Regions from separate parts of the Homo sapiens genome. Here region 2 is linked to region 1. The links are contacts of gene promoters, found by promoter capture Hi-C in human tissues and cell types (Jung and others, 2019). All regions are on one chromosome and are shown on one strand. The core of a region is centred on a gene start or on the middle of the fragment in contact, and the rest is flanking DNA. Distances in the headings are between cores, read along the strand shown.

What was found. The method cuts DNA at HindIII sites, captures the fragments that hold promoters and counts their contacts. A contact is called where the count stands out against the background at its distance.
Region 2: a contact is called between a fragment that was not itself captured here and the fragment with the promoter of SEMA3F in region 1, in 2 of the 25 tissues and cell types used here (IMR-90 fibroblasts and dorsolateral prefrontal cortex).

The regions. Positions count from the first base shown.
Region 1 is chr3:50,150,527-50,157,019 of GRCh38, reverse strand. SEMA3F (semaphorin 3F) reads right to left here and starts at 1,696. Exons shown (of 19, transcript NM_004186.5): 1 at 1,456-1,696. LOC124909484 (basic proline-rich protein-like) reads right to left here and starts at 2,350. Exons shown (of 2, transcript XM_047449434.1): 1 at 2,324-2,350; 2 at 1,231-1,959. The coding sequence starts at 2,350. The coding sequence ends at 1,231. SEMA3F-AS1 (SEMA3F antisense RNA 1) reads left to right here and starts at 935. Exons shown (of 4, transcript NR_135301.1): 1 at 935-1,286. RefSeq lists silencers at 1,712-2,181, 2,212-2,351, 2,362-2,421 and an enhancer at 5,701-6,372. The HindIII fragment of the contact is 29,271 bases long and covers 1-6,493 here.
Region 2 is chr3:50,000,234-50,006,781 of GRCh38, reverse strand. The region is part of intron 6 of RBM6 (RNA binding motif protein 6); the gene reads right to left. Among named protein-coding and RNA genes, the nearest start is that of RBM6, 63 kb to the right of the region's middle. The HindIII fragment of the contact is 4,044 bases long and covers 2,416-6,459 here.

The sequences.
Region 1 (6,493 bases), core at 447-2,946:
TTCCCTCCCCCACTTCAACAAGAGCTCTGTCTCCTTCTTGGCTCCTCAGCTTCCCCATCCCCCAACACCTCAAGGACCAGGAAGCAGAGCCACCCCAGCATAGCTGGGACTGAAACCCCCCTTTTGTGGCCAGGGTTTCCCAGTCAAGGTCACCTGAGCCTGGCTCCATCCTCCCCCCAAGGTATGCTGAGCAGCGAGGGGCTGAGGCTGGGTGGGCTGCCGCCTTCTCTCTGGCCCCTGCTTTCTCTCCGGCCCCCACCTCCCCACTTCCGGGCCTGGCTCCTTCGGAGCTGAAGGGGGAGCAGCAGGAGTAGGCATGCCTGTGCCCCCCGCCTGCCTAGACACTATACCCTACGGGGTCCTGGCACACCCCTTGGGTAGCCTGGGAAGAGGCCTCAGCTCCATCCAACTCCCTGGGCTGAGATGGGGCTCCCAACCCCTGGGTGCAGTTTTCCCTTCTCTGCAACTAGGATAACTACTGGGAGACTATCTGGGTGAATTCAGGAGGACAGAGGTCCCCAACCTGGCCCAGCTTCAGGGTGGACATACTGGTGTCTTTGGTTGGCGTCTCCCTTACCTCTCCCAAGCAGTAATGTTCTGGTGGCAAAACACAGCTATCTCAAAAATTAGGAGTTATTTATCCAGTGGGGCCCCCAGCCCCAGCTCCAGCCAACTCCCGCCAGCACTGCCTCATTCCTAGGCCAACTTTGATACCCTCCTGTCCCATCTGCTGGGGGCAACCCCGCCAAGCCCCCGCTGTCCCCTGCCCACTTCACCACTGGGACCCCTGGTTCAAACTAGGGATTGACCGCAGGCTCTCCAAGCTCACCTACACACTACATACAGCCGTGCCCCTAATCCAGGCAGGACTCTGCTGTAAAAGCAAACCCAAGGTGGCAGCTGGGGGTCAAGGGGCTGGCACAATGCTGGGAGAAATGCCTCAGGACTGGAGGTCCTCCCACTCTGCTGATGTGGGAGACCCCCCACGTGGGGACTGCCAGTATACCGCTTCCCTTCGGGCTGGCCAGTCCTCAAGTAGAGACACTGAGGTAGGGCAAGCGCATCTACGGGGAAGAGCGCTGCCTCGGGCGTTAATGGGAGAGAGAGCTGAGGCAGAAGGGGGATCGGAACTCCCGCTCCAGAAGCGTGAAGGTGGGGGTGTATGAGAGCACCCACCCAGAACCTTGCAGGAAAAAGTTGCTTTGCACATGGGTGACCCCGCAGGCCACATCATCCACACATCCATACGCCGCCCCGTAGGTAAGGGGTCCGGGCCTCCAGGACAGGTAAGAATCCCACCCCAGCCTTGTTGCCCCTATGTCCGCGGGCAGCCCCCCGGCTCGACGAGACCCGCTCCCCGGACACTTCTGCGGAGTTGCAGTGCCGCGGGTCCCAGAGGGGTCGCGGGGTGGCCCGGCCGCCTGCCCGCTCCCTCCCGGTTCCCGCTGCACTCACCTCTTCCGCAGCGGCGGGGCCTGGGCGCCCGGGCGGCGGCGGCGGCACGGAGCGGCTCCCGTTGGGCCGGTCCGCGCTAGCGGCCCCCCGGGGCCATGGCCCTGCCCGCGACCTCTCGCCGCTGCGCCTCAGCCGGGATCGGCGCCGCGGCCGCGGCTTAACCGGTTCCGCGGGCTTCGGGCGCGTCAGCAGCCGAGGGCCCGGGCCCCAGCCCGGGCCATGGGAAGGCTCAGGGGCGCTCGGGGCCGCCTCCCCTGGGGTGGGCTGCGGGCGCCCCCTGGCCGGCGCGCCGAGGGCGCATTCCCCAGCGCGGGGCGCGGGCGGTGGCGCGCACTCGGCTTCGAAGCGCTGCGCTCTCCTGGCTGCTGGACCCGGGCCGGGCGGCCGCGCTGGGCTGCACGGTTCCTCGCGGCGTACCCAGGTCCTGCGCTGCGCTCGGGGCTCTCCGGACCGCCGCGGTTCGTTCGCTCGCTCTGGTCTCGCGGCCGCCGGCGGGACGGGGCGCTCAGAGCCGCGCGGGGAGCGCCGGCAATTGGCCGCCCGTGGGCGACATTTGCATAGCGCAGCCCCGCCCCGCCCGGCCCGCCCAGCCCCACCCCCGGGGCGGGACCCGCCCAGCCACCGCCCCGCCCCCGCTCCACCTGTCCGTGGGCCGGGCTCAGGGTTCCCAGGCGGTGGGCACCCCGCGCCGGGGGAGACTAGTCTGCACCCCTCGCCCCCGCCCCCGCTTCGCGGGCGGCGCCCCCGCCCCGCCCTGGCTTTGTCTCTCTGTGAATACACCGCACACATCGCGCCTGGTGTTTACCCGGGCATTCAACTCCCTGGCGAGAAGGGCTGCAGCGCCAGGGAGCAACGAGCCTGCGCTCACCTGAGCACCCCCTTCCGCGTCCCTCATTCCCACTCGCCGCCGGCCGTGCCCCTGGTCCCGTGCGTGGGCCCCGCGGCGCAGGACCCCTGACTGCCCGGGCTGCTCAGCAGGTGGCGGTGCAGCCCCTGGGACGGCTGGCACCGCCGGACCTTCCCGCGGGCTCAGCCTCCAGCCTAGGCCAGGTCGGGGGCAGCCCAGCCACACAGCTCTCTCCAGCCATTCAACGACTCCCCGTGATCGCCTCAATCGCCAGCCCTTATTTCAGGCCAGCAGCTCCCACAGACTCTCCTTATAGTTCCATACCTTAGAGAGGCCAGATCAGCTAGCACCTTCTCTCCTCAAGGGGACATTTGCTTTCAAATGGCCTGGTGATGAGCCAATGGCTCAGCAACTGAGAAGGGCCTACCGTGACCCCAGGAAGGGACCCTCTGCCCAACCCAACTTTCCAAGGTCATGGCCTCACCACCAGGACCACTTCTCAGCCCTGCCCCGGGCACCCTGCGGAGGCTCCCAGGGGCGTTGGCCCTTTGTCCTCTCCTTCATCCTCTTCCTGTTCTGTCTTCTGTGCCCTCCTCTTTCTCCTCTTTCCTTTCTCCTCTTCTCCCTCTGCCTCTCCTTCCTTCTCCCCTCTCTTCTCCCTCTTCCTCTCTCCTCTTCTCCCTCTTTTCCATCTCCCTCCTTTTCCTCCTTCTCCTCTCTTCTCCTGGATTTTTCCTTCTCTGCCCTCTCCTCCTCTCCCTTCTCTTCCTCCACCCCATGCATTTCCTTCTCTTCTTCCTCCTCCTTCTTCCTGCTCTTTACCCTCTTCCTCCTTTCTCTTTTTCTTCTCACTCCTCCTCTCCGCCTTCTTCCTCCTCCCACTTCTCTCCCTGGCTAGCAAGACCTCCAGGAAAAGACCTCTCTCCCTCTGACCCATTGACTGGTTGACTCCAAGTGCAAGGTGGAGCTGGGCACTAGGGATCCTGCTGAGGGTCTCCTGACTCAGGACTTAGAGTGCTGCCTCATGCTCCAAGCACAGGCAGGGCATTTGAGGTGAGCAAACACCATCCTGGAGTTATGGAGCTGCTGTGACAGCACCTGCACCTCTCCCCTTTGTCACGCCTCATTGAAAACACTGTGACAATCCATCTCTCCTCATCCCCACTCATCTGTATGAGGGTCACCCCTGAGGTCACCACCACTGCACCACCATCACCAATACAGCTTAAGCCACCATCTCTATGGCTTCCAACACCATCCCTTCCATCCTCTCACAGCCTCCATGGTCTCCTTATAGCCTGGCCACTTCTATCACTATCTCCAGCATCATTAGCATCATGCTGGTTACCACGGAAGAGCTGTCAGGACTTGCCAGAGACTCCAGTGTACTGGGTTGGGAAGGAAAGAGGCTCAACTGATCTGTTCATGAAGCTCCACTCAGACACACAGAATAGGCCCAGCACACAGAGGCCTTCAATGGCAGGGAGACCAGGGAAGGGGGCCAGGAAGAGGGCAAAGAGCTAGAATTGAGCCTGGCTACATGGGGTGGAATGCCAATTCCTTCCTAAGCAATTCGAGAGGGCTGAATAATCATACAAAAAAAATTGTTATTGCAGCAGTGAATCCACACTGAGCCCTTGCTCTGTGTCAGTGCTGGGGTGAGCATTTTGTATCATCATAATATGTTGTTATAGTTTGTGTGTGTGTGTGCATATACATATCGGCAGACCTCATTTTATTGTGGTTTATTGCGTTTTGCAGATATTGTGTTTTCTGAAGTTGAAGGTTTGTTGCAACTCTGTGTCGAGCAAGTCTATCAGCACCATTTTTCCAACAGCATGTGCTCACTTCATTAGCATTTTTTAGCAATAAAGTATTTTTTAATTAAGATATGTACATTTTTTAGACATAATGCTATCACACACTTAACAGACTACAGTATAGTGTAAACATGACTTTTATATGCACTGGGAAACCAAAAAAATTTGTGAGTTGCTTTATTACAATGTTAGCTTTATTGTGGTGGTCTGGAACCAAACCCGCCATATCTCCGAGGTATATTATATTATTCAGGGGAATATTGTATAGCTTTTCACAATTTTGTCTTCAATTTCAGAGGTCCACAGACCCCTCAAAACCAGCTCTGGATACCAGGTTGGGAGGCATTGCATGCCAGGAAGTTTTGCGGTTATTCACCCCCAGGTGCTTCACAATTGGGCTGAGAAGCAGGCCCTGTTGTCCCCATTGTACAGTTGAGCATGAGGGAGGAGAGTGGGGAGGTAGGGAGGGTTGGGGGAGGCCTGGAGCCACCAGGCTGTGGTGCCTGGAGAAGGCATTTTCAGTGGCTGTGGGAAAGCTCCAGGACAGGAAGGCCAGGCTGCAGGGCCCACATGGAGCCAAGGGCCTGCAACCCTGATAGGCACGCAGGAGCTGGATGCCTGCTGGAGTCCCACAGGGCACTTCTGGAACTCCACGCATCTTTATCATGTGAATAAGAGAGCAAAAATAAGAGAGCAAATCCCTGCAGCACCAGATCGGAGAGGGAACACAGCCAAGAAGCCAAGACTCAGGGAGTCAACTCCCTGCCCTACTCTCAGCTCCTCTGGACTGGCTGCCCCCCACCCTGTGCTCTCCTTGACACCCACAATCCTTCTGTCCTCCTCTCCAGAAGCCACTCTGCTGTTCTAACTCCACCTGAGAACCACCCAGGATGCCCTGTGGCGTCATCTGAAGGGAGAGAGACAGGCTGGCTTCCTACTGGCCTGACCTCCCTCCTGTTGGGTAGGACACTCAGATCTTAGGCCTAAGTTTCATTCAGCCTCCCCCATGGCCCGCCCTGGTGCTAGTCTGGTCACGCAGGTGAAGGGGTGTGTGCAGACACAGCTGGTTAGGCCAGGTCCAGCTCCTGCACTGAATCCACCTCTGGAATACCCTCCTGGGGCAGCCTCCTCCTCCTTCCCAGGTGTGCCCCGGCTGCGTGGGATACACTGCACTCGGATCTGGGTGGACCTGGCTGAGCTTCAGGGTGGACTTCATAGTCTTGAGGTCCTGGAGCTTGTGAGGGGTGACCGAGCCAACAGTGAGGGTTACAACAGGGAAGTCATTGGCCCAGCCCCCACCTGGATGATGGTGCCAGCAACGGGCAGGAAAACCTTGAAGCTTTCCTCCCGCAAATACACCCTGCCCTTCACCCTGGCCTGGACTTTGTTTCTGGCGGTGGTTGTGCCTGTTTCTCTTCCTTTTGGCTCTTCCAGGATGCATGGGAACTGAACTGCAGCCTCCGGCCTCCTGCTGCAGGTCCCTGTTGTCTGCCTCCCCGTGGCTCACCTCAGGTGGGGAGAGGGAAGCCTGGAGGTGCACTGGGGCCTGCCCTCCTGGCCTCTGCACACGAAGGCTGGACTTGGAGGGCCTGGGCCTCAGAGACCCTCCATCCCCATTGGATGAGGGCGGCAGCCACACCAGCACTCCCTCACCTCCTCCCCTGCCCTAGTCTTAGGGGGGAACTTGTTCCCTGGGCCTGGCAGGGCAAGCAGGCCCCGGCCCGCCCAGCCCCAGCGTCGCTGGCTCAGGTTTCCTCGCTTTCTGGTTTTCTCATCTCCCCTGCCCCAGGCGCTGTTGCCTGCTCTCTGGCCCAGCCCCCACCCACTAGGAACTGGATCCCAGGGAGGGGGAGTGTTGGGAAGGGGGCTGGAGAGGGGGCTCGGGGCAGGCGGTTGGGTGGCACCAGGAGGAGGCAGGCCATGGGGACTCACTGAGGTTCCGTGTGCAGCCTTCTCCTGCCCAGCCTGCCCCAGGGGCTGGCTCTGAGCCGATCAAAAGCTGGAATGACCTGGCCTCTCCCTAAAGCTGCCTCCAAGCCGTCTCTGCTGTTGTTCCCTCTACCACAAATGTTCTTCCCGGACTTCAGCACCAGTCTAAACCCTGTGTTTCCTCTAGACGTGGGCCCTTAGCTGCCTCTTTCACCAATAAACACTGCCCTTTTCAGCACAGGCTCAGTATCCCTTCTTCATCCTTCTGCACTGGGCCCCTCAGGCATCCCGAGCCTTTTCCAGGAGCTCTAGACTCTCACCTCTGGGCCTTGGCACATGCTGTTCCCCTGTACCTGGAATGTCTTTCTTGTCTCCTTCTAGATCCAGACAGGCATCATCTCCTAGGAAGCCAGTCCTCATGGCTGGGTCAGGAGCTTCACTG
Region 2 (6,548 bases), core at 3,188-5,687, 150 kb after region 1:
TTTTTGTATTTTTAGTAGAGACGGGGTTTCACCATGTTAGCCAGGATGGTCTCCATCTCCTGACCTCGTGATCCGCCCGTCTTGGCCTCCCAACTTGCTAGGATTACAGGCATGAGCCACCGCACCCGGCCACCAGCCCCAGTTCTAATCACCTTACATGCATTAACTTATTTAATCCCTAGATGTGTGTGAGAGTACGTTAAAACACAGAGAGGTTAAGCCACTTGTTCAAGTACACCTTAGAAAGTGATGGAGCCGAAATGCAACCCCCGGTAGTCTGCTTCCAGAATACTATGTTATACTGCTACATTATACTGCTTCATGTCCAGTCGAGTCTCAATCACTGGGCTGGGCACAGTGGCTCACATGTGTAATCCCAGCACTCTGGGAGGCCGAGGCGGGCGGATCACCTGAGGTGAGGAGTTCAAGACCAGCCTGGCCAACATGGTGAAACCCCATTTCTACTGAAAATACAAAAATTAGCCAGGCGTGGTGGCACATGCTTGTAATCCCAGTTACTCGGGAGGCTAAGGCAGGAGAATCACTTGAACCCAGGAGGCGGAGGTTGCAGTGAGCACCTCTGTGCTACAGCCTGGGCGACACAGCGAGACTCCATCTGAAAAAAAAAAAAAAAAAAGTCTCAATCAGTGGATAAATCGCACCCCTGCGCTACAGCCTGGGCGAACCAGTGAGACTCCATCTCAAAAAAAAAAGTCTCAATCAGTGGATAAATAGCCAAAATGTGTAATCAAGTCATCGATCCTTAAACTCACTTTCAATTTTCTTGAATACCCCAACTCTCTTGAGAGCGAGACTCTTCAATAACCCTTGGTTTGTACTCATTAATTGTTTTAATTTTTTTTTCTAGCTAGGTTATGAACCTATACACTCATTTTAGAATGCAGTTCCCCATGTTTCTACTACTACCCTTCTGAGGGTGATAAGGAAAAAGTACTGAAATTGAAGTTTCCAGCAAGAATGGCATGATTCCAGCCATAAGTTATACAGTTGAGCTCTGGCTAGGATGCTGGATACTCCTCAATGAAGTGTTTTTGGGGTGATAGTTGTTTAGGTAACACTACAACCTTCAACCTACAGATTATTGGTTTTGTTGCTTGGAATGCACACAATTTAAGTACTAAAGTGTTTCAGATAGTATTATGTCTTTACTACCAATTTAAGTTTCCAACAAACTAGGTTCTTCAATTTTTTCCATCATGGCCTCACAAATAGCATTCTCATCACTAAAAACATAAGCTTTCTCTGTTGCTTTTTTTTTTTTTTTTGAGGCAGGATCTCTCTGTCGCCCAGGTTGCAGTGCAGTGGCACAATCACGGCTCACTGTAGCTTTGACCTCCCAGGCTCAAGCAATCCTCCCACTTTAGCCTTCCAAATAGCTGGGACAATAGGCATGTGCCACTACACCCAGCTAATTTTTAACAATGTTTTGTAGAGATGAGGTCTTGCTATGTTACCCAGGCTGGACTCAACTCCTGGGCTCAAGTGATCCTCCTGTCACAGCCTGCAAAAGTGCTGGAATTACAGGTGTGAGCCATCACACCTGGCTTCCCTATTGCTCTAATTTTAATCACAAGGACAGACCACATTTGAGATTTGGTTTCCTATATATACCTTCAAAAACACTCTTGTATCTTCAATAACCCAAACTCTCTTAATTTTGTTGACACACACACAAAAAAACACTATTTCATAAAACTTCACGTATTCCACAGCTTTCATTCCTCACACCAGAAAAAGTCAATGTTTAAAGGAATTTTCACATCAGATGATAACAGAACCCTTTTTCTTTGCACTTTAGAAAGACTGATAGTGTCATACAAAAAGGTGAGTAAGGCTGGGCGCAGTGGCTCATGCTTATAATCCCAGCAATTTGGCAGGTCCAGGTGGGAGGCTCACTTGAGGCAAGGAGTTCAAGAGCAGCCTGAGCAACACAGCAAGACCCCATCTTTACGAACAGAGTTTGTTATTTTTTTAATTAGCCGAACATGGTGGCAGGTGCCTGTAGTCCAGCTACTCAGAAGGCTGAGGTGAGAGGATTGCTTAAGCCCAGGAGTTCAAAGCTGCAATGAGCTCTCATCGTACCACTGTACTCCAGCCTGAGCAACAGAACAGAACCCTAAGTCTCAAAAAAATAAAAATTTAAAAATAGGCCAGGCATAGTGGCTCACACCTGGAATCCCAGTGCTTTGGGAGGCCGAGATAGGTAAATTGCTTGAGTCCAGGAGTTCAAGACCAGCCTGGGGAATGTTGCAAAACCCTGCCTCTACAAAAAAAAAAAAAAAAAAATAGCCAGCTGTGGTGGTGGTAGTTCCAGCTACTAAAGAGAACTGAGTTGGGAGGATCACTTCGGCACAAGAGATCGAGGCCGCAGTGAGCCATGATTGTACCACTACACTCCAGCGTAGGTGACAGAGGGAGACCTTGTCTCCAATAAGAGGAGAGGGGAGGGGGGGGAGGGGAGAAAAAGGAAAGAAAAAAAGAAAAAGAAAAAGGAAAGGAAAGGAAAGGGGAAAGGAGAATAAAAATTTCAGAGAAATAAATACCTCTCCCAGAGTTATCTTCTATAAGGGCACTTTAGTGACTAATTTGGCCAAATAATAGACAATAAGCATCACACCAGCATACTTGAGAACATAAAATGCTAATCCCTGCATACCAAATGCCAACAGTCTGAGAGGGCTAGTACTCACAACTGGGCAACCAATGAAAGGGATTAACATTTTAACACAATACTTCTTACTCCCCTCCCCAAGTCCCAGTGCAAGGGCACACAAAGCAGAAGGAAATAATATGTACCCTCAATCTCCCAGAGACTTGACAACAAAGAAAGCCAAGGGCATATGACAGGGCTAGAAATACACTTTGCAGGAAGGGTGGAACGAAAGGCTCTGCCTGACAGTGCTTGCTGGCTGCCCCCTTCTCCTAGACAGAAATGGTGATGGTACAGACTAACAGATTCATACCTTCATACCTGTTGGAAATTATTTCTCCAGATAGACAGCTGCTGCCTAAGTGATACCCTGATCGGTCACCACAGCCACAAAGCTCAGTACTGCTGCAGAGCATCCTACTGTTTAACAGCTTGATCTAGGCACCAGGAAAAGGCTAGAGGGACCTTGGTTATCATCTTGAGCAACTTCACGAAGGCACACATACCCAACAATATTTGACAAAGCAAGCTAGCAGAAAATTCCTTTATTTCCATCCCCTAGGCCTACAAGTACCAGCCAATGATAAATAAAAGACATTTCACATCAAGAGTCGGAATAGCAAAGAGTTACAAAAAAACTCAAAGTACTTCGGAGTAACCTTCTCAGAGGCACACACACACTCAGGCTCTACTAAGAGTTGCCAAGCAGATCGTGGTGACTCAGAATCCATACCAATTTGGTCTGTAAGTAAAACTGGGGGAAAGGATAGACAAAGACTTTTTTTTTTTTTTTTTTTTTTTTAAATTTAGACAGGGTCTCACTATTTACCCCATGCTCATTTCAAACTCCTGGGCTCAAGTGATCCTCCAGCCTTGGTCTCCCAAAGTGGTGGGATTATAAGCTTGAGCCATAGTGCCCGGCCTACAAACACATTTTATCTTCCACAAATATTTATTTTATTTATTTATTTATTTATTCAATTTTATTGTTTTCTTGAGACAGAGTCTTGCTCTGTCAGCAGGCTGGAGTGCAGTGGTGCAATCTTGGCTCACTGCAACCTCCACCTCCTGGGTTCAAGCAATTATCCTGCCCCAGCCTCCCAAGTAGCTGGGACTACAGGCGTGCGCCACCACACCTGGCTAATTTTTTTGTATTTTAGTAGAGACGGGGTTTCACCTTGTTGGTCAGGATGGTCTTGCTCTCCTGACCTCATGATCCGCTCGCCTCAGCCTCCCAAAATATTTACTTTATTCACCCTGAGGAGACAGGACTTCTTCCCTCACATTCTTATGTCTCTCATAAGATTGTTTACTATGTCATAAGGAGTTTAATCCACATCCATTTCCTTAAAGAATTAGTTTTATTAAACTTCAGATATAAAAATAAATTTATTTTCTTATAATTATAATTGAAGGCCAGGCACGGTGACTCGTGCGTGTCATCCCAGCACTTTGGGAGGCCAAGGTGGGCAGATCACCTAAGGTCTGCAGTTCAAGACCAGCCTGGCCAACATAGTGAAACCCCATCTCTACTAATAATACAAAAATTGGCAGGACATGGTGGCTCACGCCTGCAGTCCCAGCACTTTGGGAGGCCAAGGCAGTCGGATCACCTGAGGTCAGGAGTTCCAGACCAGCCTGGCAAACATGGTGAAACCCCATCTCTACTAAAAATACAAAAATTAGCCAGGTGTGGTGGCGGGCACCTGTAATCCCAGCTATTTGGGAGGCTGAGGCAGGAGAATCACTTGAACCCAGGAGGTAGAGGTTGCAATGAGCTGAGATCGTGCCACCGCACTCCAGCCTGGGCAACAGAGCGAGACTCCATCTCAAAAAAAAAAAAAAAGAAAAAAAATTTACCCAAGCATGGTGGCGCATATCTGTAGTCCCAGCTACCTGGGAGGCTGAGACAGGAGGATCTCTGGAACCCGGGTGGCGGAGGTTGCAGTGAGCCAAGATTACGCCACTGCACTCCAGCCTGGCTGGACTCCGTCTCACACACACACACAAAATTTATAATTGGAAATTACTTGACATGTGGAGGAGGGTAAGAGAGAGAAAGAAGGACACTGAATTTCAAATTAATTCAAATGCTACCAAGTGCTAGGTACTATAGTAAGTGTTCTGGATACATTATTCGCCAAGAGTCACAACTTAAATGTATGTCACTCCTCAAGAAGTTTCCCTGACCACCCCTCTAAAATTGCCACCATGATGCATTCTCCCAATACCCTGCTTCATTTTCTTTATAGCACTCAGCTATCAGCTATTACATTGAGTATTTAGCACAGAGGCGAACGACTTAATCACATTCACTGCTTATGAATTAATGAGTGTTCTCAAAATTGGACAGACTGTCAGAATAGGATCCACCGAAAGCACACAGATTGGAAGCTTTTTTCTTCTCTCCAAAATTGGCATGTAGCAGTTTCTGACACATGGTTAGTACAGTTGTCCCTTGGTGTCCACAGGGGATTGGTTCCAGGACCCACAAGGACACAAAAATCTCAGGATGCTCAAGTCCCTTATATAAAATCACATGGTATTTGCATACAACCTACACACATCCTCCAACATACTTTAAACCATCTCTAGATTACTTATATCTAATACCTAATAAAGACTATATAAATAGTTAACTGTACTTTTTTGTTTTTTGAGACGGGGTCTCACTCTGTCACCCCAGGCTAGAGTGCAGCAGAGTGATCACAGCTCACTGCAGTCTCAATCCAGACTCAAGTAATCCTCTCATCTTAGCCTCCCAAGTTGATAGCCACCACACTTGGCTAATTTTTTCACTTTTATTTTTTGTAGAGATGGGGTCTCCCTGTGTTGCCCAGGCTGGTCTCAAACTCCTGGCCTCAAGCAATCCTCCCACCCGGGCCTCCCAAAATGTTGGGATTACAGAGTAAGCCACCACTCCTGGCCTGTATTATTTTTTATTGTTGCAGTGTTAATGCATTTTTTTCCTGAATATGTCCAATCAGCATTTGGTTGAATCTATGGGTGTGGAACCTGTGGATACAGAGTGTCAACTGTATTTGGTAAGTGATTCAGTGATGGACACTGAACAAATGGTCAATGAGAATCCTCTTAAGTCTAGGGGATATGGTCCTAAGCCTGTCATTCTTTAAGGATCTGACAAGCTTAAACTACTAACAAGATAAGGATACATCAAAAGTCTTCTCTAATGAGTGCTTGCTCCCAAAGCATTTAGAGCATGTCATCTCCATACCCATAAGAGGAGAACTTGGCCAAGAAGAGAAAAGTACGTATAATGAGCCACACTGAGTTAAACAAAGCTGAACAAAGCATCAGGCTACAGAAGAAGAAGAGTTCTCATCTAATAACTACTCTTCTCTGGCAGAGCCTTCTTTTAAGATTCTGGGCCTGGCTGGGCACGGTGGCTCATGCCTGTAATCCCAGGACTTTGGGAGGCCGAGGCAGGCAGATCACCTGAGGTCTGGAGTTCGAGAGCAGCCTGACCAACATGGAGAAACCCCATCTCTACTAAAAATACAAAATTAGCCGGCGTGGTGGCGCATGCCTGTAATCCCAGCTACTCAGGGGGCTGAGACAGGAGAATCGCTTGAACCAGGGAGGTGGAGGTAGCAGTGAGCCGAGATCGCACCATTGCAATCCAGCCTGGGCAACAAGAGCAAAACTCCGTCTCAAAAAAAAAAAAAGAAAGAAAGAAAGATTCTGGGCCCACTGTATTCACACTGTTAAGTATAGGCAGTGGGTACATTAAAAAAAAAAAAAAAGAAAAAAAAAACACATCAAACTATATTCCTAAGTTTCTTTTCCTACTTTACAGATGGAGGAACTGAAACAACCCAAAGAAAACAACTTTCCCCAAGGAAGCACCATAACAAGA